Linked DNA regions of Homo sapiens: all the other regions are linked to region 5. Evidence: promoter capture Hi-C in 16 types of primary human blood cells and fetal thymus (Javierre and others, 2016). All regions are on one chromosome and are shown on one strand. The core of a region is centred on a gene start or on the middle of the fragment in contact, and the rest is flanking DNA. Distances in the headings are between cores, read along the strand shown. Region 1 overlaps HAUS5-DT (HAUS5 divergent transcript). Region 2 has its middle 7.7 kb from the start of KRTDAP. Region 3 overlaps ATP4A (ATPase H+/K+ transporting subunit alpha). Region 4 holds the start of COX6B1 (cytochrome c oxidase subunit 6B1). Region 5 holds the start of LRFN3 (leucine rich repeat and fibronectin type III domain containing 3). Region 6 holds the start of RBM42 (RNA binding motif protein 42).

What was found. The method cuts DNA at HindIII sites, captures the fragments that hold promoters and counts their contacts. A CHiCAGO score of 5 or more calls a contact.
Region 1: a contact is called between a fragment that was not itself captured here and the fragment with the promoter of LRFN3 in region 5, in 1 of 17 cell types (neutrophils). The highest score is 5.3, in neutrophils.
Region 2: a fragment that was not itself captured here is called in contact with the fragment with the promoter of LRFN3 in region 5 in 1 of 17 cell types (neutrophils); the score reaches 6.5 in neutrophils.
Region 3: a fragment that was not itself captured here is called in contact with the fragment with the promoter of LRFN3 in region 5 in 1 of 17 cell types (M2 macrophages); the score reaches 6.0 in M2 macrophages.
Region 4: a contact is called between the fragment with the promoter of COX6B1 here and the fragment with the promoter of LRFN3 in region 5, in 1 of 17 cell types (neutrophils). The highest score is 8.4, in neutrophils.
Region 6: a contact is called between the fragment with the promoter of RBM42 here and the fragment with the promoter of LRFN3 in region 5, in 1 of 17 cell types (neutrophils). The highest score is 7.6, in neutrophils.

Annotation. Positions count from the first base shown.
Region 1 is chr19:35,605,573-35,609,303 of GRCh38, forward strand. It overlaps HAUS5-DT (HAUS5 divergent transcript), which reads right to left. Exons shown (of 2, transcript NR_186318.1): 2 at 2,817-3,231. Among named protein-coding and RNA genes, the nearest start is that of HAUS5-DT, 5.2 kb to the right of the region's middle. The HindIII fragment of the contact is 3,634 bases long and covers 1-3,185 here.
Region 2 is chr19:35,480,915-35,484,655 of GRCh38, forward strand. No RefSeq gene overlaps it. Among named protein-coding and RNA genes, the nearest start is that of KRTDAP, 7.7 kb to the right of the region's middle. The HindIII fragment of the contact is 4,631 bases long and covers 144-3,741 here.
Region 3 is chr19:35,554,290-35,557,876 of GRCh38, forward strand. It overlaps ATP4A (ATPase H+/K+ transporting subunit alpha), which reads right to left. Exons shown (of 22, transcript NM_000704.3): 11 at 3,366-3,558; 12 at 2,624-2,799; 13 at 1,387-1,523; 14 at 1,151-1,301; 15 at 877-1,045; 16 at 633-787. Among named protein-coding and RNA genes, the nearest start is that of ATP4A, 7.6 kb to the right of the region's middle. The HindIII fragment of the contact is 254 bases long and covers 1,768-2,021 here.
Region 4 is chr19:35,646,383-35,649,942 of GRCh38, forward strand. It overlaps COX6B1 (cytochrome c oxidase subunit 6B1), which reads left to right and starts at 1,941. Exons shown (of 4, transcript NM_001863.5): 1 at 1,941-2,021. RefSeq lists enhancers at 1,933-1,992, 2,153-2,202. The HindIII fragment of the contact is 14,427 bases long and covers 1-3,560 here.
Region 5 is chr19:35,933,599-35,937,623 of GRCh38, forward strand. LRFN3 (leucine rich repeat and fibronectin type III domain containing 3) reads left to right here and starts at 2,776. Exons shown (of 3, transcript NM_024509.2): 1 at 2,776-3,957. The HindIII fragment of the contact is 21,793 bases long and covers 1-4,025 here.
Region 6 is chr19:35,627,184-35,631,230 of GRCh38, forward strand. RBM42 (RNA binding motif protein 42) reads left to right here and starts at 1,853. Exons shown (of 10, transcript NM_024321.5): 1 at 1,853-2,098; 2 at 2,337-2,490; 3 at 3,957-4,041. The coding sequence starts at 1,971. RefSeq lists enhancers at 823-1,350, 1,276-1,515, 1,664-1,958. The HindIII fragment of the contact is 21,053 bases long and covers 1-4,047 here.

The DNA.
Region 1 (3,731 bases), core at 119-2,618, 330 kb before region 5:
CTGTAATCCCAGCTACTCATGAGGCTGAGGCAGGAGAATTGCTTGAACCCTGGGAAAGAGAGGTTGCAGTGAGCTGAGATCGCACCACTACACTACAGCCTGGGTGACAGAGTAAGACTCCATCTCAAAAAAAAAAAAAAAAAAAAAAAAAAGTGAATATGGGATGTTACTACACATGTGCTGTACCTTCCCTTCATGAATATTCATAGCTCCTCCTATAACCTGTTGAATATGTATACTGAGCCAAGCCATTCAGCGTTAACTCTGACCTTATCCTTCCCTTACTGGAGGTGCCTGCTCTCAGCTTCTACCGGAGGCTACACTTCTCGGCCTGTGAGATGGCCCGGCTGCAGGCTGCAACTCTTTATGAGAAATAAAGCTCTCCTTTCCAAATTTGTAAACCTGTATTAGTCTGTTCTCACGCTGCTGAAAAGAACTGCCCAAGACTGGGTAATTTATAAAGGAAAGAGGTTTAATTGACTCACAGTTCCGCAGGGTTGGGGAGGCCTCAGGGAACTTAAAATCATGGTGGAAAAGAAAGCAAAAACGTCCTTCCTCAGATGGCAGCAGGAAGGAGAAGTGCCAAGCAAAGAGGGAAAAGCCCCTTATAAAACCATCAGATCTCGTGAGAACTCACTATCTCAAGAACAGCAGCATGGGGGTAACCACCCCCATGATTCGATTACCTCCCACTAGGTCCCTCCCACAACACATGGGGATTTGGGGAACTACAATTCAAGATGAGATTTGGGTGGGGACAGCCAAACCATATCAAAACCTCATGATTCTTCAGTTGACATCTAATCTGAGCTACCATGGTCTATCAAAAAACCACAGCTCTTGAGGGGATCTCAATGGCTGTTAACAAACTGGTTAGAGTTCTGGTCAGGTTCTGATTGTAGAGAGCCTCTGTAACAGATATGGATTGCCTCCTTCCCCCCACCCTCCTTGTTATTTTTATTTCATTTTATTAAATTTTTTTTTGAGACAGGGTCACACTATGTCACCCAGACTGGAATGCAGTGGCACAATCTCAGCTCACTGCAACTTCTGGCTCCCAGGTTCAAGTGATTCTCATGCCTCAGCCTCCTGAGTAGCTAGGACTACAGGTGCATGCCACCATGCCCAGCAAATTTTTATATTTTTTGTAGAGACAGGGTTTTGCCATGCTGCCCAGACTGGTCTCAAACTCCTGAGCTCAACCAATCTGTCTGCCTTGGCCTCCCAAAGTGCTGGGATTATAGGCGTGAGCCACTGTTCCCAGCCATGATTTTTATTTAACAAATACTCATTATTTAACAAATACTTTCTGAGCACCTACTGTGTCCCAGGCATTGTCTTGGGAACGAGGAACACAACGGAGCAAGAGAAGTAAGGCCAACTTCTTCTCTGATGGAGCTTACATTCTAGTGGGAAAGAAAACTATAAACAAGTATACCCAAAAATAAACAAGATAATTACAGGGAATGGTAAATGCTATAGAGAAAAATAAAACAGAATAAGAAGCTAAAGTGGTGCCAGGACTGGTCCAGCAACTATTATGGTGTTGGGAGCAAGCCCCCCAAAATATGGCCATAAACTGACCCCAAGACTGGCCACAAACAAAATCTCCACAGCACTGTGACATGTTCATAATGGCCCTAACGCCCAAGCTGGAAGGTTGTGGGTTTACGGGAATGAGGGCAAGGAACACCTGGCCCGCCCAGAGTGGAAAACCACTTAAAGGCATTCTTAAGCCACAAACAATAGCATGAGCGATGTGTGTCTTAAGGACGTGTTCCTGCTGCAGTTAACTAGCCCAACCTATTCCTTTAATTCGGCCCATCCCTTCGTTTCCCATAAGGGATACTTTTAATTTAATATCTATAGAAACAATGCTAATGACTGGTTTGCTGTTACTAAATATGTGGGTAAATCTCTGTTCGGGGCTCTCAGCTCTGAAGGCTGTGAGACCCCTGATTTCCCACTTCACACCTCTATATTTCTGTGTGTGTGTGTTTAATTCCTCTAGCACCAGTGGGTTAGGGTCTCCCCAACCGAGCTGGTGTCTGCAATGGTGTGCCACCAGATAAGTACGGAAATTGCCAGCAAGTGTTTAGAAACACAGCAATTTGACATATCCATGACATCCAAGTATAGGATCAATGGATTTTCTTGTTGAACAGGGTAGAGACCAAAAGGATTGGTCCATGACAGGTTGGAAACATCAAACAAATGATCCTTCTCCATAGTTACAAGTAGTTTGAGATACACTGAGCTAGTGGGCAATGATGTCTACAAGGTATATTATTTAGAGTCATGCTAGCTGCTATAACAAATAAACCCCACCATTTCAGTAGCTCACAAAATAAAAGTTCTTTTTTTTTTTTTTTTTGAGACGGAGTTTCACTTTTGTTGCCCAGGCTGGAGTGCAATGGCACGATCTCAGCTCACAACAACCTCTGCCCCCTGGGTTCAAGCGATTCTCCTGCCCCAGCCTCCCAAGTAGCTGAGATTACAGGCATGCACCACCACACCCGGCTGATTTTTTTGTATTTTTAGTAGAGACGGGGTTTCTCCATGTTGGTCAGGCTAGTCTCAAACTCCTAACCTCAGGTGATCCACCTGCCTCAGCCTCCCAAAGTGCTGGGATTACAGGCATGAGCCATCACGCCCAGCCAGAAGCTCATTTCTTACTGTTCCTTTGAGCACATTCCAGCATCAGGGTCTTTCCACTTGCTGTTCCCACTTTGGGAACTCCATTTTCACAGTTTTCAAGTAGCTCTCACACTTTGGCTCTCACGTCTCAGCTCAAAGAACATCTTAGAAAGGCCTTCTGTGGCAGAGCCAGCAGGATGTTTATTGACTGCCTAGACCAGGACTACATTTCCCAGAGGCCCTTGCAGCTAGTTGAAGCCATAAGACAAGTTATGTTCAATGGACTGAGAGCAGAAGTGATGTATGTCACTTTAGGGTGAAGACTTTCAAGAAGCAGGTGCGAGTTCCTTATTCTCTCTTCTGCCTGGATTCAAAAGACTCTGAGCCCATAGAAGATGGTTGAATCACCTTATGGAAGAAGCCTGGATCCCTGAATTACTATGTGGATCAGGAGAAATGTCTGATGGGATGTTCTATGAGTAAGAAATGAGAAGACTCTTCTCAAACGTGGAAGGAGCTGCTGAAACCAAAATCACAAGTCCTAGAGAAGCTTCTTATTATCTCTCAGATGGTGGATGGGTTCCAAAAAGCATCCTGAAATTATCCAGAAAAACAGAAAAGAGATTTCAGATAAAGCAAAGGGAGAGAGATGCTGACAGAAGAAGACCAAGAGGCCACAGGGGCTCTGCTCCTTCAGGATCTAAGAAAGCAGGAAGGCACCAGTACCTCCCACCAAGGCCAACAGAACAGATACCATGAGAAAGGAACCAAGAAAAGGACAAATGGTGACATGTCTCCAAAACAAGGAGACATTGAGCATAAGAAGCAGAAAGTGAGGCCAGGTGCAGTGGCTCACACCTGTAATCCCAGCACTTTGGGAGGCTGAGGCAAGTGGATCACTTGAGGTCAGGAGTTTGAGACCAGCCTGGCCAACATGGTGAAACCCCGTCTCTACTAAAAATACAAAAATTAGCCGGGTATGATGGTGCATGCCTGTAATCCTAGCTACTTGGGAGGCTGAGGCAGAGAATTGCTTGAACCCAAGAGGTAGAGGTTGCAGTGAGCCGAGATTGTGCCACTGCACTCCAGCCTGG
Region 2 (3,741 bases), core at 1,209-3,708, 450 kb before region 5:
TGTGTTCCTCTGTGCCTTTTCATCCCCCTGCAAACTGGTAGTTAGATCTAGAGTCTAGAGTTTTAATCAGGTTTGGAGTTGATTTTTGGCAAGAATGCTTCCTATGTGGGGCCCTGTGCTTTCTGTTGCATCAGGTCTGCAGAAGCTTGTCTCTTCTCTCTCTGGGTGTTGGATAGATACATGGGTTCACTGGTTGTGAGCCTGATCCACCACCATAAATTTCCCCATCAGCATTTCACCTGCCGGGTTTGGCAGTCATTAATGTGAAGGGATTAGCATGTGCTACTCCAAAGTATGCTGCTTTAGCATAAGGATTATTTTGAGTAGAAGGCAATTAAGAAGCAGCAGACAGAAGAGGAACTCTCTGTCCTCTCCCTTTCTGCCTAAAGCAGGGTATACATTTCCCATCAGGTAGAGGAGATAACTCAACGCTGGAGACTTGAATCTGCATAAGCAAATCTTGCTAAATAACCCTTTATCTTCCATTAATTTCCCCTGTATATTTTACTTACCTTCCCACAATTTACATCACCTGGATGTCCAAATCCCTTTTTCACCGTTTTGTCACTTTTCCACAATTTTTTTTTTTTTTTTTTTTAGACAGAGTCTCACTCTGTCGCCCATGCTGGAGTACAGTGGTGTGATCTGGGCTCACTGCAACCTCTACCTCCCAGGTTCAAGGGATTTTCATGCCTCAGCTCCTGGGTAGTTGGGATTACAGGTGTGCACCACCACACCTGGCTAATGTTTTTGTATTTTTAGTAGAGATGGGGTTTCACCATGTTGGCCAGGCTGGTCTCGAACTCCTGACCTCAAGTGATCCGCTTTCCTCAGCCTCCCAAAGTGCTGGGATTACAGGCATGAGCCACCATGCCCAGCTTACTTTTCCACGATTTATCACCCTTTGTTAAAACGGTATATGAGCCTCAAGCCTGGCCACTTCTTTAGGTTTTCACTTCTTTTCTGTGAAGCTCCTGGATGCATGCATAATAAGCCTTTTCTCCTGCTAATCTATCTTTTGTTAATTTTTTTTTTTAAGATGGAGTCTCACTCTGTCGCCCAGGCTGGAGTACAGTTGTGTGATCTCGGCTTACTGCTACCTCTGCCTCCCAGGTTCAAGCAATTCTCCTGTCTCAGCCTCCTGAGTAGCTGGGACTACAGGCATGCGCCACCATGCCCAGCTAATTTTTGTATTTTCAGTAGAGATGGCGTTTCACCATATTGGTCTGGCTGGTCTCGAACTCTTGACCTCAGGTGATCCACCTGCCTCGGCCTCCCAAAGTGCTAGGATTACAGGCATGAGCCACTGTGCCTGGCCTCTTTTGTTAATGTAATTAGCATGCCACAGCCACTGAACCTAAGACAGTAGAAAAAAATGTTTTTTTCCTTCCCTACAGATGCTAGCCTACATTCATTATTTTATTAAATTTTGAAAAACGAAAATATTCTATTATTTCTTTTGCATTTATTAGTTTCAAATTCTCGTATAAAGAAAAATTGTGCCAGCTGGGCATGGTGGCGCATGCCTGTAATTTCAACACTTTGGGAGGCCAAGGCCAGAGGATCACTTGAGGTCAGGAGTTGAAGACCACCCTGGGCAACATAGCAAGACACCCATCCTACAAAAAATTTAAAAATATACCAGGTGTGGTGGCTTGTGCCTGTAGTTCCAACTACTCAGGAGGCTGAGGCAGGAGGATTGCTTGAGCCAGGGAGGTGAAGGCTGCCTCCAGCCAAGATCATGCCACTGCACTCCAGCCTCGGTGAAAGAGCAAGACGCTGTCTCAAAAAAAAAAAAAAAAAAAAAAGAGAGAGAGAGAGAAACTGTTTACCCTGAAGTATATAGTTCATAGAGGAAAGTAAGGATGAATCCTTGATTCATTTCCTTTATTTACCAGTTTTTTAAATGAGTTGATTCCCAGAAGCCTCCCAAAGTAATCACTTAGTTTGGCTTTGGTTTTTAGTCCCTTTATGTCCTGGCTGAGTATGACAGGGACTTTTTTTTTTTTTAAGTTCATTTATGAATGCCAAATTCAAAGTTACTTTCCCCAGTTTTCTTACCCTGGTGCAAAACTATCTCCTCCCTTCTGTCAGATTTAAACATATCGTTCTAAGGTATCTAGTGCCTTCTCCCTGGATGCTTCCTTTATCGTAAGTATCAACTGGATCATAACTCCTTGAAGGCCTTCTGCATAGCACTCAACATCATGCCCAAGGCCGTGCTTCTCAAACGTTATTCCACATGTGAATCATCCAGGGGCAGGGGTCTTGTTAAAATTCTGATGCATTAGCTCTGGGTGAGCAGAGCTTCTGCATTTCTAGCAAGCAAGCACCAAGTGATGCTGATGCCGCTGGCTCGGGGACCACACTCTGAGTAGCAAAAGGGTGTGGTAAATGTGAGAAATCAGTTTCATTCATTCAGTTAAGAGGCACCTACTCTGGGTCACTGCATGGACTAGGCCCTACCACTTTACAGTGCAAAGCGTTTTTTTGGTGTTTGTTTGCTTTACTAGAAAGTTTTGATTTTAATTTATTCTTTTGAATATGTAATTTGCACATGGTAAAACATTTTTGTTCATAAAATCCAAAAGGGTACACAGTGAAAGTATCTAACTTTTCAAAAGTTATCACTGTTACTTCTCAAGTTTTATTCCAGATAATAGCAGATAATATGCAGATAATAGCATATATTTGTACCATATCTTTATTTTAACCACATGGCAGCATAATGATCTGCCACTTTCTTTTTTTCATTTTACTCTATCTTGGAGATTGTTTCATAGCTCAGTGTATATCTCTACATCCTGTTGAACAGATGGTATAGTATCCACACAAGATTCATTTGTTGGCCAGGCATGGTGGTTCACACCTGTAATCCCTGCACTTTGGGAGTCCAGTGCAGGCGGATCACCTGAAGTCAGGAGTTCAAGACCAGCCTGGCTGACGTGGCAAAACCCCATCTCTACTAAAAATACAAAAATTAGCCGGACATGGTGGCGGGCACCCATGTAGAAGATGTAATTCCATCTTCTCAGGAGGCTGAGGCAGGAGAATCGTTTGAACCTGGGAAGCAGAGGTTGTGGTGAGCCAAGATTGCACCACTGCACTCCAGCCTGAGCAACAGAGTGAAACTCCGTCTCAAAAAAAAAAAATGCATTTGTTATTGTTTTTATAAAGTATAAAATGAAGAGTGACTACTTCCTGCCTTTTATTAAATAAAGGTTATTTAATAAGATTTGCTTATGCAGATTCAAGTCTCCAGTGTTGAGTTATCTCCTCTACCTGATGGGAAATGTACAGGTCATCCCCAGGGAGAACAGGTGCTATGTCTTCCATTCTTTGAATCCTCTGAATGGCCTGACCCATGTTTGTGCATTTTGTCAATTTCACATGATCTAGCTAGTATACATCTGTCACTCATGTGCACAGCTTGTCTACACTTCACTTTGTCTTTTTCTTTTTGGTTCAGATTGCAGTCTCTCTAGACTCCAATTGTTTCTTGACTGTGTATTCTGTCAGCACTTGCAAATTGATCTGGTGTTCTCTGGCTTTAATAATATGTTATTGTGAAATACAACATGCATAGGTGTGCATAAAATGTACATATTTAAAGAAGAAATGAAACATGATATAGAAGTGGCTTCTGTCACACACCGTCCCCCCTTATCTCCTATGTGCCACTCTCCTATCACATGGGATCTCTCCATCTAAGGGGCAACTACTATCCTGATTCTGGGTTAA
Region 3 (3,587 bases), core at 645-3,144, 380 kb before region 5:
AGTCACAGCCGGGCCACTTATTTGCCCAGTGACCTGGGACAATCCACTCTACCTGTCTATGCCTTGATGAGCTCATCAGTAAAGTACGGGTGATAGTAACAAAACTCATCTCATAGTGTGGTTATGAGTACAAAATTAAGGAAATGATGGTGTGTCTGGCCCAGAGAAAGCACTGTGTAAATGTTACCGAATAAATACCTGTCAACACAGCTGCGCCTCTGGCTGCATTCGTGACTGTATCTGTGGTTCTTTTCTGTCTGTCTGCCATGGGGTCTATCTGAGGGGGTTTATTTGTCCGTGTCTGTTTAGGGGCACGTGTCTGTGATTCAAGTTTGGCCAGATACCTGTTCTGTTTCCATCTCTGTCTGAGTATCTGTATCTGAGTCATGTGTGTGCATGGGTCGGCCCGGGCCTACCTGAGTGTCCGCCTGTGTGTGCATGGCTGTATGTCCATTTAGGTCTGTTCACCTGCCTGCCACCCATGTGTCCTGCACTGGCTGTCATTGCACACACAGGTCTTGTCTGTCACTCTGTGCCCAAGAGTGTCTGTGGTGGTCTCTGTCCCTCCTGTCCATCTGCAAGCAAGTGTCTCTGGGCACCCTGTGGATGGGTACCCTGGGCTGTGGACTTACAATGTCAGTGCAGAGTTCGATGAAGAGGATGGTGATGCACCCGAGGGGCAGGGGCACGCTGACGGTGATGTAGATGAGGTAGGGTGTCAGCTCTGGGATGTTCTTGGTCAATGTGTAGGCAATAGACTTCTTCAGGTTGTCGAAGATCAGTCGACCTGTGGGGTAGGGTGGGCACCTCAGCCTCCTCACAGCCCTCTCCCTCCTGTGCCCACACTGCCTGCCCTCCCCCTGGCGTGGCTCGGACCCTGCTCCACGCCTGTCACAATGGAGGCAAAGTTGTCATCCAGCAGGATCATGTCAGCTGCATTTTTGGCAGCATCTGAGCCAGCGATGCCCATGGCTACTCCGATGTCTGCCTTCTTCAGAGCTGGGGAGTCATTCACACCATCCCCCGTGACGGCCACAATCGCACCCTGCAGGCAGTGGGTGCAGGTGGTGGGTGGGTGGTCAGTGAGAGGCCGGTCCAAGACCAGCCCCGCCTGTCTGCCCGCCTGCCCACCCTCATCAGCAGGGCTCACCAGCCGCTGGCAGCTCTCCACGATCACCAGCTTCTGCTGGGGGCTGGTGCGCGCAAACACCATCTCGGGGTGGGTGCGCAGGGCCTCGACCAGTTCCGATGGGTCCATGTCCTTCAGCTGCATGCCATTGATCACACAGGCACGGGCATCCCTGGGGAGGAGATGGGAGGACCTCGCTGGGACCTCGGTCTGTGCCAGATGTGGGGAGAACCCCGGGGAGGTCTGGGGGGGCTTACTTGCGATTAACCTGGTCTACGGGCACACGGAGGCGGGCAGCGATGTCCTCCACTGTCTCGCTGCCTTCCGAGATGATGCCCACACTGGCTGCAATGGCCTTGGCGGTGATGGGGTGGTCACCCGTTACCATGATCACCTGTAGGGGGAACCAGTGGATCACTGACCCCTTCAGATCAGCCCAATCTCCCTGTCCTCCCTGGGAGACATCTGCTGATACACGTGTTCATTTACTTGACCAAGCGTGACCACCTCCTACGTGCCTGGGATATAGCAGAGACAAAAGAGACAAAAATCCCTGTCCTTGAGGAGCTCTAGTGAGGGTGACAGAAAATAAAGAAACGAATTATATAGTGTGTTAGAAAGTGGAAAAAAACATATTAAGCTTGGTGAAGGAAACGGTGACTCGATTTTAAGTGTACCCAGGGAAGGGCTTATTGAGAAGGTGATATCTGAGCAGAGACCTGTAAGAGGTGAGAGAGTCAGCCACGTGGAAAGCTGGGAGAAGAGTGCTCCTGGCAGGGAGAACAGCAGGTGCAAAGGCCCTGAGGTGAGGACAGGCCCGAACTGTCGGAGGAACAGCAGGGAGGACACCATAACTGCAGAGGAGTGAACAAGGAAAGAGGGCTAACGAACAAGCTTAGAAAGGTAACAAGGCCCGATGTAACAGGGCCGTAGAGACACGGGAAGGGCTTGGGCATTGCCTGCCTGGCCTTGGCTTTCCCACCCTTGTTTTGTGTTTGGGGAACCACTCCTCTCCCCTACACCATCAGTTGCAGTGAGGTCCCTGGCTAAGATTGGGTAAGTAAGCCCAGACCTGGCCAATCAAGGTCTTCCATCCCCCAGCCCCAGTGACTGGCTCAGGGATAAATGAGTGACCCAATCCAGTGCTACTGCAAAAGAGGCACTCTCTTTTTGTGGGGTGGCTAAGCAGGTGGGAGTTAAGTTTGAGCTGCTGGAGCAGGGGTGTGTGTGTCCCCAAGTGAAGGGAGTGCCTGCAAATAAAGCCAGCAAAGAGAACAGCAGAGCTGAGACATGGAGAAAGGAAAATTCCTAATGACACTGAGCTCCTGGATCTGGCTAGACCTGAAGCTTAATTCCCCAGAATTTTTCAGTATCATAAACCAATGCATTTTGGTTCAAGCCAGTTTCAGGTGGGTTTGTCATGGGGTTCTTCAACCCAAATCCTGCTGCCATCCTCTGTCCTCACTCCACTTGTTCCTCCCCACAGTGGCATACCCGGATGCCTGCGGTGCGACACTTGAGCACAGCATCAGGGACGGTGGCCCGGGGTGGGTCAATCATGGATACAAGTCCCGCAAAGCAGAGGCCGCTAGATGGAAAGTTCATGGCCTCTACGTCGAAGGCATAGCCAGGCGGGTAGTCCTTCTCATTCAGGTAGAGCTGGCAGAAGCCTGACCGGAAACGGGGAAGTCAGGGAAGAGCCCTGGGCACACCCTTTCTTAGCAGGGCCAGGAAATGGGTAAAATAACCAGGCCCCTTGCACCAAACACCTATGGATGCCTGACCTTGTGCTGACCCCTTCACTCACATTATCTGAATCTACCCTCACAACCACCCTGTGAGGCCCATTCTCATCTTACAGATGAGGAAACTGAGGCTCAGAGAGGGGACATTTCTTGCCAGAGGTCACACAGCAAGTAAAAGGCCCAGAATTGGACCACAGATCTGCTTTCTAGGGTAGAGGCAGCGAAGTTTAAGGCGTCAGGACAAAAATTGGGAGAGGTTAGAGGTCAGGATACGGATAAAAGTCCAGGTGAGGACTGGGGTCAAGGTAGAAAGTGAGGACAGACAGGGGTCAGGACTGGTACAGGGAAAGTCAAGGGTGAGGCTGTGGACTGCGACAAATCAGCCAGCAGCCAGGGATGAGGACGGTCAGGGCTGGGCCGGGAGTGGTGGGCAGGGTCTGTGCTAGCTCCTCCTCGCACCTGGAGTCTCCTCCCCTGCCCAGGGGTCTCACCGAGCACGCGTTCGCCCAGGCCTCCCAGGCTGAGGTAGGCGGTCTGGAAGGCCTCGCGCCACTGCTCGTCCAGCGGCAGCTCCTGGCCCTTGATAAGGATGGAGCTGCAGCGCTCCAGCACGCGCTCGGGGGCGCCCTTCATCACCAGCAAGTGTCGCGGGTCCCGCGGGTCCTCCAGCGTATGGATGGACAGCTGTGGGCGGGGGGGAGAGGCGAGGCTGT
Region 4 (3,560 bases), core at 691-3,190, 290 kb before region 5:
CGCACAGCTAATTTTTGTATTTTTAGTAAAGATGGGGTTGCACCGTGTTGGTCAGGCTGGTCTTGAACTCCTGACCTCAGGTGATCCGCCTGCCTTGGCCACCCAAAGTGCTGGGATTATAGGAGTGAGCCACCGTGCCTGGCCCCCATCAAGGGGTTTTAAGCAGGGAAAGGGATTTGGATTTTAGGAAGATCTCATTGCAGGGGATGAATACATGCATGTAAACAGGTAATTCCACAAATAATCACAATGTTGATGGACACAGAATGTGTAAGAAGAGGTCCCTGACCCAATTCCATCTGGACACTGCACCCCAGATGGTATGTGAGAGGCTTTAGAGGCCAGATGGGGGAGGAAGGAAAGCAGTTCTCTTTCATAGCTCCCTCTCCTAGTCCCTAGATGCTTCCTTCATTTCCACAAGAAATTCTTGCATTCAGCAAATATTTATAGACCACTTCCTGTGTGCCAGGCACTGCTTTAGATACAATGGTGAATGAATAAGGCAGACAAAAATTCTTCCTTTATGATAATTCTTTTCTGTTGAGGGAGGCAAAAAGAGGTAAACATAATGTAAAAGAACAGATATAGCCGGGCACGGTGGCTCACGCCTGTAATCCCAGCACTTTGGAAGGCCAAGGCGGGCAGATCACCTGAGGTCAAAAGTTCAAGACCAGCCTGACCAACATGGACAAACCGCATCTCTACTAAAAATACAAAATTAGCCAGGTGTGGTGGCGCATGCCTGTAATCCCAGCTACTGGGGAGGCTGAGGCAGAAGAATCGCTCTAGCTCGGGAGGTGGAGGTTGCAGTGAGCCAAGATCACACCACTGCACTCCAGCCTGGGCAACAAGAGCAAAACTCTGTCTGAAAAAAAAAAAAAAAAAAAAAAAAAAAAAGCCAAATTGGCCAGGTAGGGCAGCTCACGCCTGTAATCCCAGCATTTTGGGAGGCCGAGGTGGGCAGATCACCTGAGGTCAGGAGTTCAAGACCAACCTGACCAACATGGTGAAATCCCATCTCTACCAAAAATACCAAAATTAGCCGGGAGTGGTGGCGTGCGCTTGTAATCGCACCTACTCGGGAGGCTGAGGCAGGAGAATCGCTTGAACCGAGTAGACGCAGGTTGCAGTGAGCCAAGTTCGTGCCACTGCACTCCAGCCTGGGCGACAGAGTGAGACTCCGTCTCTCTCTCTATATATATATTTTAAGGGTAGGGATTTTTGTGTTTTGTGCAGCGTGCTTTCTCAACCCGTAAAGTGCCTGATGGCTGGATACGGTGGGTCACGCCGGTAATCCTAACGCTTTGGAAGGCCGAGGCGGGAGGATCGCTTAGAGACCAGGAGTTCGAGTCCAGCCTGGGTAACACAGCAAGACCCCATCTCTATAAAATGCATATATATATCCAGGAGTAGCGGTGCGCATCTGTAATCCCAGCTACTCGGGAGGATGAGGCGGGAGAATCGCTTGAACCCAGGAGGCGGAGGTTGCAGTGAGCTGAGATCGCGCTACTGCACTCCAGCCTGGGCCATAGAGTAAGACCCTGTCTCAAAAATTTAAAAAAAAGAAAAAAAAAATTTAAAGAAAAGAAATACCTGACACAGAAAAAGCGTTCAATAAATATTTCTTGCATGAATAAAAGTACTTTCGCTGGGACATTTTTCTCCACACCTACCCTCCAGCCAGCCCCGGGATCTATAACACTCTCTCCGAGTGAAGACACAGAGGTGATGAGATCGGGTAACCCACGGGCGCCCGAGCCCCAGCCGCGCAAGCTCACGATTGGGCCAGAAGTGAGGATGAACAAGCATTTAGCCCAATAGAAAGTCGTAGTTCTCTTGCTGGGCGTGGCTTGAATGACTTCAGTGGCCTCCTCCTGGGAGGGAGCTGAAGCCGCTCGCAAGACTCCCGTAGTCCCCACCTCTCTCAGCTTCCGGCTGGTAGTAGTTCCGCTTCCTGTCCGACTGTGGTGTCTTTGCTGAGGGTCACATTGAGCTGCAGGTTGAATCCGGGGTGCCTTTAGGTGAGTGTGGAGGGTTCTGTAACCTGGGACCCCAGTCTAGCGGGCTGAGGAGCCGGACCCCAGCTTCCCTGAGAACGGGTTGAGGCTTCCGGCTGGCGGCGTCCGGCCTCCCTGGACCCCGGGGCCCTGTTCTGTTCATCGTAAGAGCTAACAATGATACGGTTCTTCCTTGATGCCAGGCAACATCCCAAACAACTTTAATTAATTTATTTAACTCTCCCACCAGCCCTATGAGATAGGGCCTGCGATTATCCCCTTTTGTCAGTAAACAGGCTCAGAGATACCAAGCGACCTAGCTGAACCTACACAGCGACCAGGATTTGGCCCAGGAGTTTGTCCTCCAGGGCTCTTCATGGCTAATTCACAGGCGTGGCCTCTCGCGGCTTGCCTGGGCCGCAGCCTGGCTCCCGGGTGTCCAGTCCATCCTCCCTTTTGGACGTTGGAGGGGCCGCAGCGTCATCTCCGATGCACCCTCATCCTCAGATACCGGGTAGAGATCTCGCCGGTAACGATCCTTCCTACTGCGTCTGTGCCCCAGCAGCTGGTGTTTTACACCCCACTTCCCCACCGAAAGACTGTTTTAGTGCTCCAGACCCCCACCACCACCTTGCGTCGCTTGAATTTGACACTGCTCTGCAAGTCTCTGTATAGCCCCACGACTCCTAGGATTCCCTGGAATATAGATACTTTTCTCTCAGGCTCCCGACGAACACTGTCACTTCTTCAGAGACATTATATTAAAGGTGTTTAACCCTGGGTCCGCAGAGTTGGTAGAATTCAAGGAATGCTAGTACTTGAATTGGGGTGGGGGGTGGAATTGCATCTGTGTTTTTACTAACCTTTTGAGGCAGCAACCTCGGTAGTACTAGCAGCAGCGGTGATTTTGTTAGCAATGAAAATCATAGACATTCCTTTTTTTTGTTTTTCTCCTTTTTTGAGACAGGGTCACTGTGTCACCCAGGCTGGCGTGCAGTGGAGAAATCTTGGCTCACTGCAACCTCTGCTTCCCTGTGCAAGCGATCCTGCCTCAGTAGCTGGGACCACAGGCACGCGCCACCACACCTGGCTAATTTTAATTTTTTTTTTTTTTTTTGAGACAAGATCTTGCTGTATCGCCCAGGCTGGAGTACAATGGCACAATCTCGGCTCACTGCAACCTCCGCCTCTTGGGTTCAAGTGATTCTCCTGCCCCAGCCTCCCTGGTAGCTGGGATTACAGGTGCACGCCACCATGCCCAGCTAATTTTTTGTATTTTTAGTAGAGATGGGGTTTCACCATATTGGCCAAGCTGGTCTTGAACTCCTGACCTCAGGTGATCCACCCACCTCGGCTTCCCAAAGTGCTGGGATTACAGGCGTGAGCCACCTCTTCCGGCCAATTTTAATATTTTTTTTGTAGAGATGAGATGGGGTTTCACCATGTTGCCCAGGCTGGTCTTGAACTCCTGGGCTCAAGCGATCCTCCCACCTCAGCATTCCAAAGTGCTGGGATTACAGGTGTGAACCATTGTGCTCCACCCAAAATCACAGGTATTCTTAT
Region 5 (4,025 bases), core at 1,526-4,025:
CCCAGCACTTTGGGAGGCCGAGGTGGGGGTATCACCTGAGGTCAGGAGTTCAAGACCAGCCTTGCCAACATGGTGAAACCCCATCTCTACTAAAAATACAAAAATTAGCCGGGCATGGTGGCACATGCCTGTAATCCCAGCTACTCGGGAGGCTGAGGCAGAAGAATCGCTTGAATCCGGGCGGCGGAGGTTGTAGTGAGCAAAGATCACGCCACTGCACTCCAGCCTGGGTGACAGAGTGAGACTCCGTCTCAAAATAAAAATCAGCCAAGCGTGGTGGTGCATGCCTGTAATCCCAGCTACTCGGGAGGCTGAGGCAGGAGAATAGCTTGAACCCAGGAGGTGGAGATTGCAGTGAGCCGAGATCATGCCACTGCACTCCAGCCTGGGCGACAGAGCAGGACTCTGTCTTAAAAAAAAAGAGATGGGGGCTGGGCGCAGTGGCTCACACCTGTAATCCCAGCACTTTGGGAGGCCGAGGTGGGGGGTATCACCTGAGGTCAGGAGTTCAAGACCAGCCTTGCCAACATGGCGAAACCCCATCTCTACTAAAAATACAAAAATTAGCTAGGCATGGTGGTAGGTGCCTGTTATCCCAGCTACTTGGGAGGCTGAGGCAGGAGAATCACTTGAACCAAGGAGGCAGAGGTTGCAGTGAGCCAAGATTATGCCACTGCACTACAACCTGGGCAACAAAGTAAGACTCTGTCTAAAAAAATAAATAAATAAATAGGCCGGACACTGTGGCTCACGCCTGTAATCCCAGCACTTTAGGAGGCCGAGGCGGGCAGATCACGAGGTCAGGAGATCAAGACCATCCTGGCTAACATGGTGAAACCCTGTCTCTAATAAAAATACCAAAAAAATTAGCTGGGCATGGTGGCAGACGCCTCTAGTCCCAGCTACTCGGGAGGCTGAGGCAGGAGAATGGCGTGAACCCGGGAGGTGGAGCTTGCGGTGAGCCAAGATCACACCACTGCACTCCAGCCTGGGCAACAGAGCTAGACTCTGTCTCAAAAATAAATAAATAAATAAAATAATAATAAAATGGGGTTATTTGTTTTTTGCTTGTTGCATTGTTTAAGTCCCTTATAGACTGAATTCCTCTTTATGTCTCTAAATACATTTGTCTCTTTGGTACACATCTGCGGTGCTACATGCCCTCAACCCACCAGGTTTTAGCATAGCTGTTGTGGTAGACAGTTCCGTGTGCAGTGCAGATAGCCCTGGTTCAGCCCAGCTGTTCTCAAAATGTGGTCCCTGACCAGGTGTAGTGGCTCACACCTGTAATCACAACACTTTGGGAGGCCTGGGAGGGAGGATTGCCTGAGGCCAAGAGTTCAAGACCAGCCTGGGCAGCATATTGAGACCCTGTCTCTACAAGAAATTTTAAAAATTAGCTGGATATGGCGATGCATGCCTGTAGTCTCAGTTACTCTGGAGCCTGAGGTGGGAGGATTGCTTGAGCCCAGGAATTTGAGGTTGCAGTCAATTATGATTGCACCAATGTACTGGGTGACAAAGCAAGACCCTGTCTCAAAAAAAAAAGTATGGTCTTTGAAAAGTCACATTAGCATCACCTGGGTACTCGTTAAAAATGCAAATGTTTGGGTCCCACCTCAGACCCACTGAACCAGAAACTCTGAGGTTGGGACCTGGAGATCTATGGTGCCCCCGGGTGATCCTGGTGGGCTGCACTGCAAGGACACCTGGCCTGGCTCCTGCAAGGCAAGGCATCCCTCTCTGCTTTTCTTTCTTTCTTTCTTTCTTTTAAAGACAGAGTCTCACTCTGTCACCCAGGCTGGAGTGCAATGGCTGGATCTCAGATCACTACAATCTCCACCTCCCGGGTTCAAGCAATTCTCTTGCCTCAGCCTCCCGAGTAGCTGGGATTACGGGCGTCCGCCACCACACCCGGCTAATTTTTGTATTTTTAGTAGAGACGGGGTTTCTCCATGTTGGCCAGGCTGGTCTCCAACGCCTGATCTCAAAAGATCCGCCCGCCTTGGCCTCCCAACGAGCCGGGATTACAGGCGTGAGCCACCGCCCCCGGCTGTCAGTGTGTCTTGAGGTCTTTCCCTAATCCCAGATGGCACAAGTTTTCCCTCTTGCAGGCAGAGAAAGGAGCCTTGGGAAGGAGCCCCTCTGGCCTGAAAGATCAAGCCTATTGCTGGGCATGGCCAGGTAAGGAAACTCCAACCGTGGAAAGGACATTCCAGGGAGGTGGTGCTGAGATAAGGGGGGCAGAAAGAGACAGGTTTGGGGGGCCAGTGGCTCTGGAATGAAGCGCTACACTCAAGGCTAGGAATAGTTACTGAATGCACATACACACATACCATTCTCACAGCCCAGGTGCTGCGTCTTAGAGCGTGTGAGTGTGTATGTGTGTGTCTGTGTGTGCGCGCGCACGCACGTCTCTATCTCTGTTTCTGTCTTTCTCTGACTTGTCCTTATCTCTTGTCTCTCCATCACTCTCTGTGTCTCGCTGTCTCTGTGCATTTCCATGTCTCGAATATGTGTGTGTTTCAATCTGTCTCTCTGCCTCTTTCCATTTTCTCCTCTCTATCCATCAATCTAAGCCTGCCCATCTTTTTGTCTGCCTTTCTGTATCTCCGTTCTTCTCTGTCTCTCTGTCTCAGTCTCTCTGTATCCAGGGATTCTCTTTCCCAGCAGCGCCAGTGCGACTCCATGGGAGGTGGGGCCGGGGCGCGTCTTTGAGAGAAGGGGCGGGTGCCTACGCCTTTAAGCGCGGGTGCGCGCGGAGCCTGCGCCTTTAAGCGCCGGTGCGCGCGCTGCCCTGGGTTGCCGGCGAGGAGGCCGCGGGAGCGCCTGGACCCGGCCCGCCCAGCCCGGCCCCCGCCCGGCCCCCGCCTCGGCCCCGGCGGGGGAGGGGTCTCTGAGCGCGGCCCCTCCCCCCTGCGCCCCCGCCTGCGCTGCGGTGCCCCCATCCCGCGTGTCCCAGTCTGTCTGACCGTCCCTCCGCTCCCAGGCCTCGCCCCACCCGGCCCTGGGGCTGCCCGGTCGCCCCCCTCCCCACCGCAGCCGGTCCCCTCCCTCCCAGTCAGCCTCCGCCGCAGCCCAGGAAGCCAGCCGGGACGCCGCCGCCCCGGACCCCGCGCCCTAACCTCCACCTCGGGGGCCTGCACCCCCAGATTGAATCGGGAATTCCGGAAACCCGAGCCTGGAACCCTGATCTGGGACCAGCACCCCGAGATCCGGCCGTGGAACCCCAAGATCTGGAGCCTGAACCCCAGTATATGGGGCTGGAATCTCAACATCGGTCACTGGGACCTCAATATTTGGAGCCGGAACCCCACAATTTGGAACACAGACCCCAATATTTGGAGCAGAACCCCAAGATTTGACATCTAAAACCTCAAGCCTGGAGCTGAACTCTGAATTCTGGGCCTGGGACCTTGAAATCTGGGACTGGATTTCCAGTACTGTACCCTGGAACCCACTCTTGGGGACCTGAACCCTGGGATTCAGGCCTCAAATTCCAAGATCTGGACTGTGGGATTCCAAGGGGCCTGAACCCGAGTTTGGGCCTGAAGTCCTTGCTGCAGACCTGAGTGCTTAAATCTGGGGCTTGAGACCTCCCAATCTTGACTCAGCACCCCAATATCTGAATGCAGAACCCCGGGATCGGATCTCAGACTCTAAACCCCACCGTTTGGCTGCTTAGCATCCCAAGACTGGACCTGGGAGACCCTGACCCTGAACAACCCAAACTGGACCCGTAAAACTGGACCCTAGAGGCCCAATATTTAGGGGTCTGGAACCCCGAGTATTAAGGTCTGGAGACTCCGTTGCCACAGATTTGAGCCGAGTCAGGACACAGTCCCTCTACAGAAGCCTTGGGGACAGGAAAAGCATGACCAGATGCTCCCTCCAGAGCCCTGACCTCTGACTCCCCTGGAGCTAGGACTCTGCTCCCTGGGGCTGCTTCTAGCTCAGGTAAGGCTGCTGAAACCTCAAGGTGGGGACGGGCTGGGAGGAGCATTGTGGCTGCGGGTTACGGTACC
Region 6 (4,047 bases), core at 603-3,102, 310 kb before region 5:
CTATCGTATAAAGACATTTTTGAGACAAGGAAAACTGAACACGGTCTGGGTGTTAGATGATACTAAGAAATTAATTTGATGGTATTCATAATGGCATAGTTAATGGTATTTTTTTTTTCTTGACACTGAGTTTCACTCTATCGCCCAGGCTGGAGTGCAGTGACGCGATCTCGGCTCACTGCAACCTCTGTCTCCCGGGTTCAAACAATTCTCCTGCCTCAGCCTCCCGAGTAGCTGGAACCACAGGCGCACGCCACCACGGCCGGCTAATTTTCGTATTTTTAGTAGAGACAGGGTTTCACCATGTTGGCCAGGCGGGTTTCAAACCCCTGACCTCAGGTGATCCGCCCACCTCGACCTCCCAGAGTGCTGGGATTACAGGTGTGAGCCACTGAGCCCAGCGTTAATGGTATTTTTTAAAAATAGTTCTTATCGGCCGGGCCGAGATCGCGCCACTGCACTCCAGCCTGGGCGACAGAGCGAGACTCCGTCTCAAAAAAAAAAAAATAGTTCTTATCTGTTAAGGAGACATAATGGCGCATTTATGACTGAGTTGATGTCTGGAATTTGCTTTAACATACTCCAGCAAAAAAATATAAAAATAAGAAAAGTATAAGGCCATGCGCAGTGGCTCATGCCTGTAATCCCAGCACTCTGGGAGGCCGAGGCGAGTGGATCACTTGAGATCAGAAGTTTGCTACCAGCCTGGCCAACATGGTGAAACCCCGCCTCTACTAAAAATACAAAAATTAGCCGGGTGTGGTAGTACACACCTGTAATCCCAGCTACTAGGGAAGCTGAGGCAGGAGAATCCCTTGAGTCCAGGAGGTGGAGGTTGCAGTGAGCCGAGGTCACACTACTGCAATCCAGCCTGGGCGACAGAGCGAGACTCCGTCTCAAAAAAAAAAAAAAAAAAAAGAAGAAGGTACTTTGTAACATTCTCCCCGCCCTTGAGAATGTACTTTATAAGCCTATCCCAAACCTGTAAGAACTAATGATAATCCCACCACCCTTTGCTGACTCCTTTTTCGGACTCAGCCCGCCTGCACCCAGGTGAAATAAACAGCCTTGTTGCTCACACAAAGCCTGCTTGGTGGTCTCTTCACACGGACGCGCGTGACAAAGAAGTATAGATCAAGTGAAATCCAGAAGTGTTGAATATTGGTAGCGTTTGAGATGTACTTAAGAGTGCGTTATACTATTCCCCTTAATGTGCATGTTTGAAAATACTCAGAATAAAACACTTGTGAGGGCTACGGGAAAAAAAAAAGGGTCAGCTGTGGCCCAAGAAAGGACAGGGACCAAGCCCACGGACGTGCTCCTCTGAGTTGCACTAGTCTCTGGGCCTTGGCTCCCACCCTGAACAGCTCTCATCTTTAAATGTCTTCAGCTGTCCTCCTCCAGGAAGCCGGGTCAGGCGCTTCCTCCCGGGCGTCTCCGGTCTTCCTGGAAACCACAGGTCGGGTGTCAACCTACTCCAGGATAGGGGCCCCGAGGGGCCAGCCAGGCCTCCCAGCCTTGCCCAACCCTGGGGTTGACACGGACTTTAGCGTCTTTTTAAACTTCCGGCGCGGGCTCTGCGGTGGCACAGGAGGGTCCTCCAAACTTTCCTGCGATCTCAAAGGTCCAGATTCCACATTGGGGATGGGCCCAACTGACTTTGCTTCGCTCTCATTAGCCGGTGGTCCTCCAGGAAAGCGGGGCCGCCTCTCCGCTGTGCTCTCATAGGCCCAGGTTCTTGCGTTCGTGTGTCCTTCTCTCACTCTGATTGGCCTATATTCCCCCTGAGGGTGTGGCCAAATCTCATTGGCTCTCGCGCCCGAATGTATGACGTCATGCGCCAGCGCCCGTCGCTTTTGCTGGACGTCATCCTCGGGAGCCCACCCGGACGAAGGGGGAGAGTAGACAGCAGAACCAGCGGCGGCGGCTAAGCAGAGACTGTAGTAGCGGCGACAGCGACGACGGCAGCGATGGCTGGGGCGGGGCCAGCCCCGGGACTCCCGGGTGCAGGAGGACCCGTGGTCCCGGGTCCTGGCGCTGGCATCCCGGGCAAAAGCGGCGAGGAACGCTTGAAGGAAATGGAGGCGGAGATGGCCCTGTAAGGCCCGCGACAGAGAGTGATAAAAGTCGTCCCAGAGCCAGAGCCACCGAATCTCGGAGCCTCCAGGCCTCGATAGGCCGGAGATACGGCTCTAACATGGGGAAGTGGGACCTTCGGGATTGTGGGGGCGGGGATAGGGGAGAGGTTGGCAGGGGTGAGGGTCCCCTCGCGATATACCCACAGTTCCAAAATTGGTACGAGGTCCTGAGCGCTGATGTCTGTTCTACTCCTCCAGGTTTGAGCAGGAAGTTCTGGGGGCTCCAGTACCTGGAATCCCAACTGCTGTGCCTGCGGTGCCCACTGTCCCCACGGTCCCCACAGTAGAAGCGATGCAGGTCCCAGCGGCTCCTGTGATCCGCCCAATTATCGCGACCAACACATACCAGCAGGTACGGCTGAGCTAAGGCATGTAAGTCAGGGAACACAATGCCTCGAACAGAGTAGGTGTTTGTGTACAGAGAGCTGTTGACGTTTTGGCTTGTTGACTAATTAGCATGACAAATATTTTATATGCCAGGCACTGAGAACACAGTAATGACTGAGAGAGACATTTCTGCCCTGTGGGAGCTTATATTCTAGAACATGTTGTCCAGTAGAGCTTTCTGCAATGACGAGACTGTTCTGATATATTTAAAATTTATATTTAATAGTTCGTTATTCTCATTAGTCACATTTCAAGTGCTCAGTAGCCAACTATATATGACTAGTAGAGAAAGAGAGAGAAATTATTAAGATGAAAATAGGCTGGGCGCTGGGCGTGGTGGCTCACACCTGTAATCCCAGCACTTTGGGAGACCAAGGCGGGCAGATCACGAGGTCAAGAGATCGAGTCCATCCTGGCCAACATGGTGAAACCCCATCTCTACTAAAATTACAAAAATTAGCTGGGTGTGGTGGCACGTGCCTGTAGTCCCAGCTACTTGGGAGGCTGAGGCAGGAGAATCGCTTGAACCCAGGAAGCGGAGGTTGCAGTGAGCTGAGATTGCGCCACTGCACTGGAGCCTGGTGACAGAGCGAGACTCCGTCTCAAAAAAAAAAAAAAAGCCCTGAGGCAGGTGCATACCTGTTGTGTTGTTGTGTTCAAGGAACAGCAAGGAGACCAGTGACAGTGGAGTGAGCAAAGAGGAAAGTGGGAGGAGATAAGGACAGAGAGGTGAGGCCAAATCTTGTAGAGCCTTATGGCCATTTTAAGAACCCTGGTGGCCAGGCACGGTTGCTCACGCCTGTAATCCCAGCACTTTGGGAAGCCAAGGCGGGTAGATCACAAGGTCAGGAGTTCAAGACCAACCTGGCCAACATGGTGCAACCCCGTCTCTATTAAAAATACAAAAATTAGGCGGGCGTGTCGGCGGGCGCCTATAATCCCAGCTACTCCGGAGGCTGAGGCAGGAATATCACTTGAACCCAGGAGGCGGAGGTTGCAGTGAGCCAAGCTCGTGCCACTGCACTCCAGCCTGGACAATAGAGCGAGACTCCGTCTCAAAAAAAAGACTGTAAGGGACAAGGGCAGAAGCCAGGAGATGGAGGAAGGGGCTAGTACAGTAATCTAGACAGGAGTTAATGGTGGCTTGGATGGAGGTTGTGCATGGGAGATGGGGAGGACAGGTTGGACACAGTTTCAGTGGGTGCTAAGTGCTGTGGGGAAGATGAAATAAGGTGGTGAGAGAAGTTGCTGCTCAGAGAGCCCTAGTGTGATCCAAAAAGCCTCCCCGAGAAGTGGCATTTTAGCTAAGACCTGAGATAGCCAGCCACATACAGAGCACAAAGCATGAAGCTCTTGGTCTCTTGGGGTGAGCTGGCCGCAGCAGATGGGAATGCTGAGTCAGGCCCCTCACCCTGACCTCTTCCTCGACAGGTCCAGCAGACTCTGGAGGCCCGAGCAGCTGCTGCAGCCACAGTAGTTCCTCCCATGGTGGGTGGCCCTCCTTTTGTAGGCCCTGGTAAGT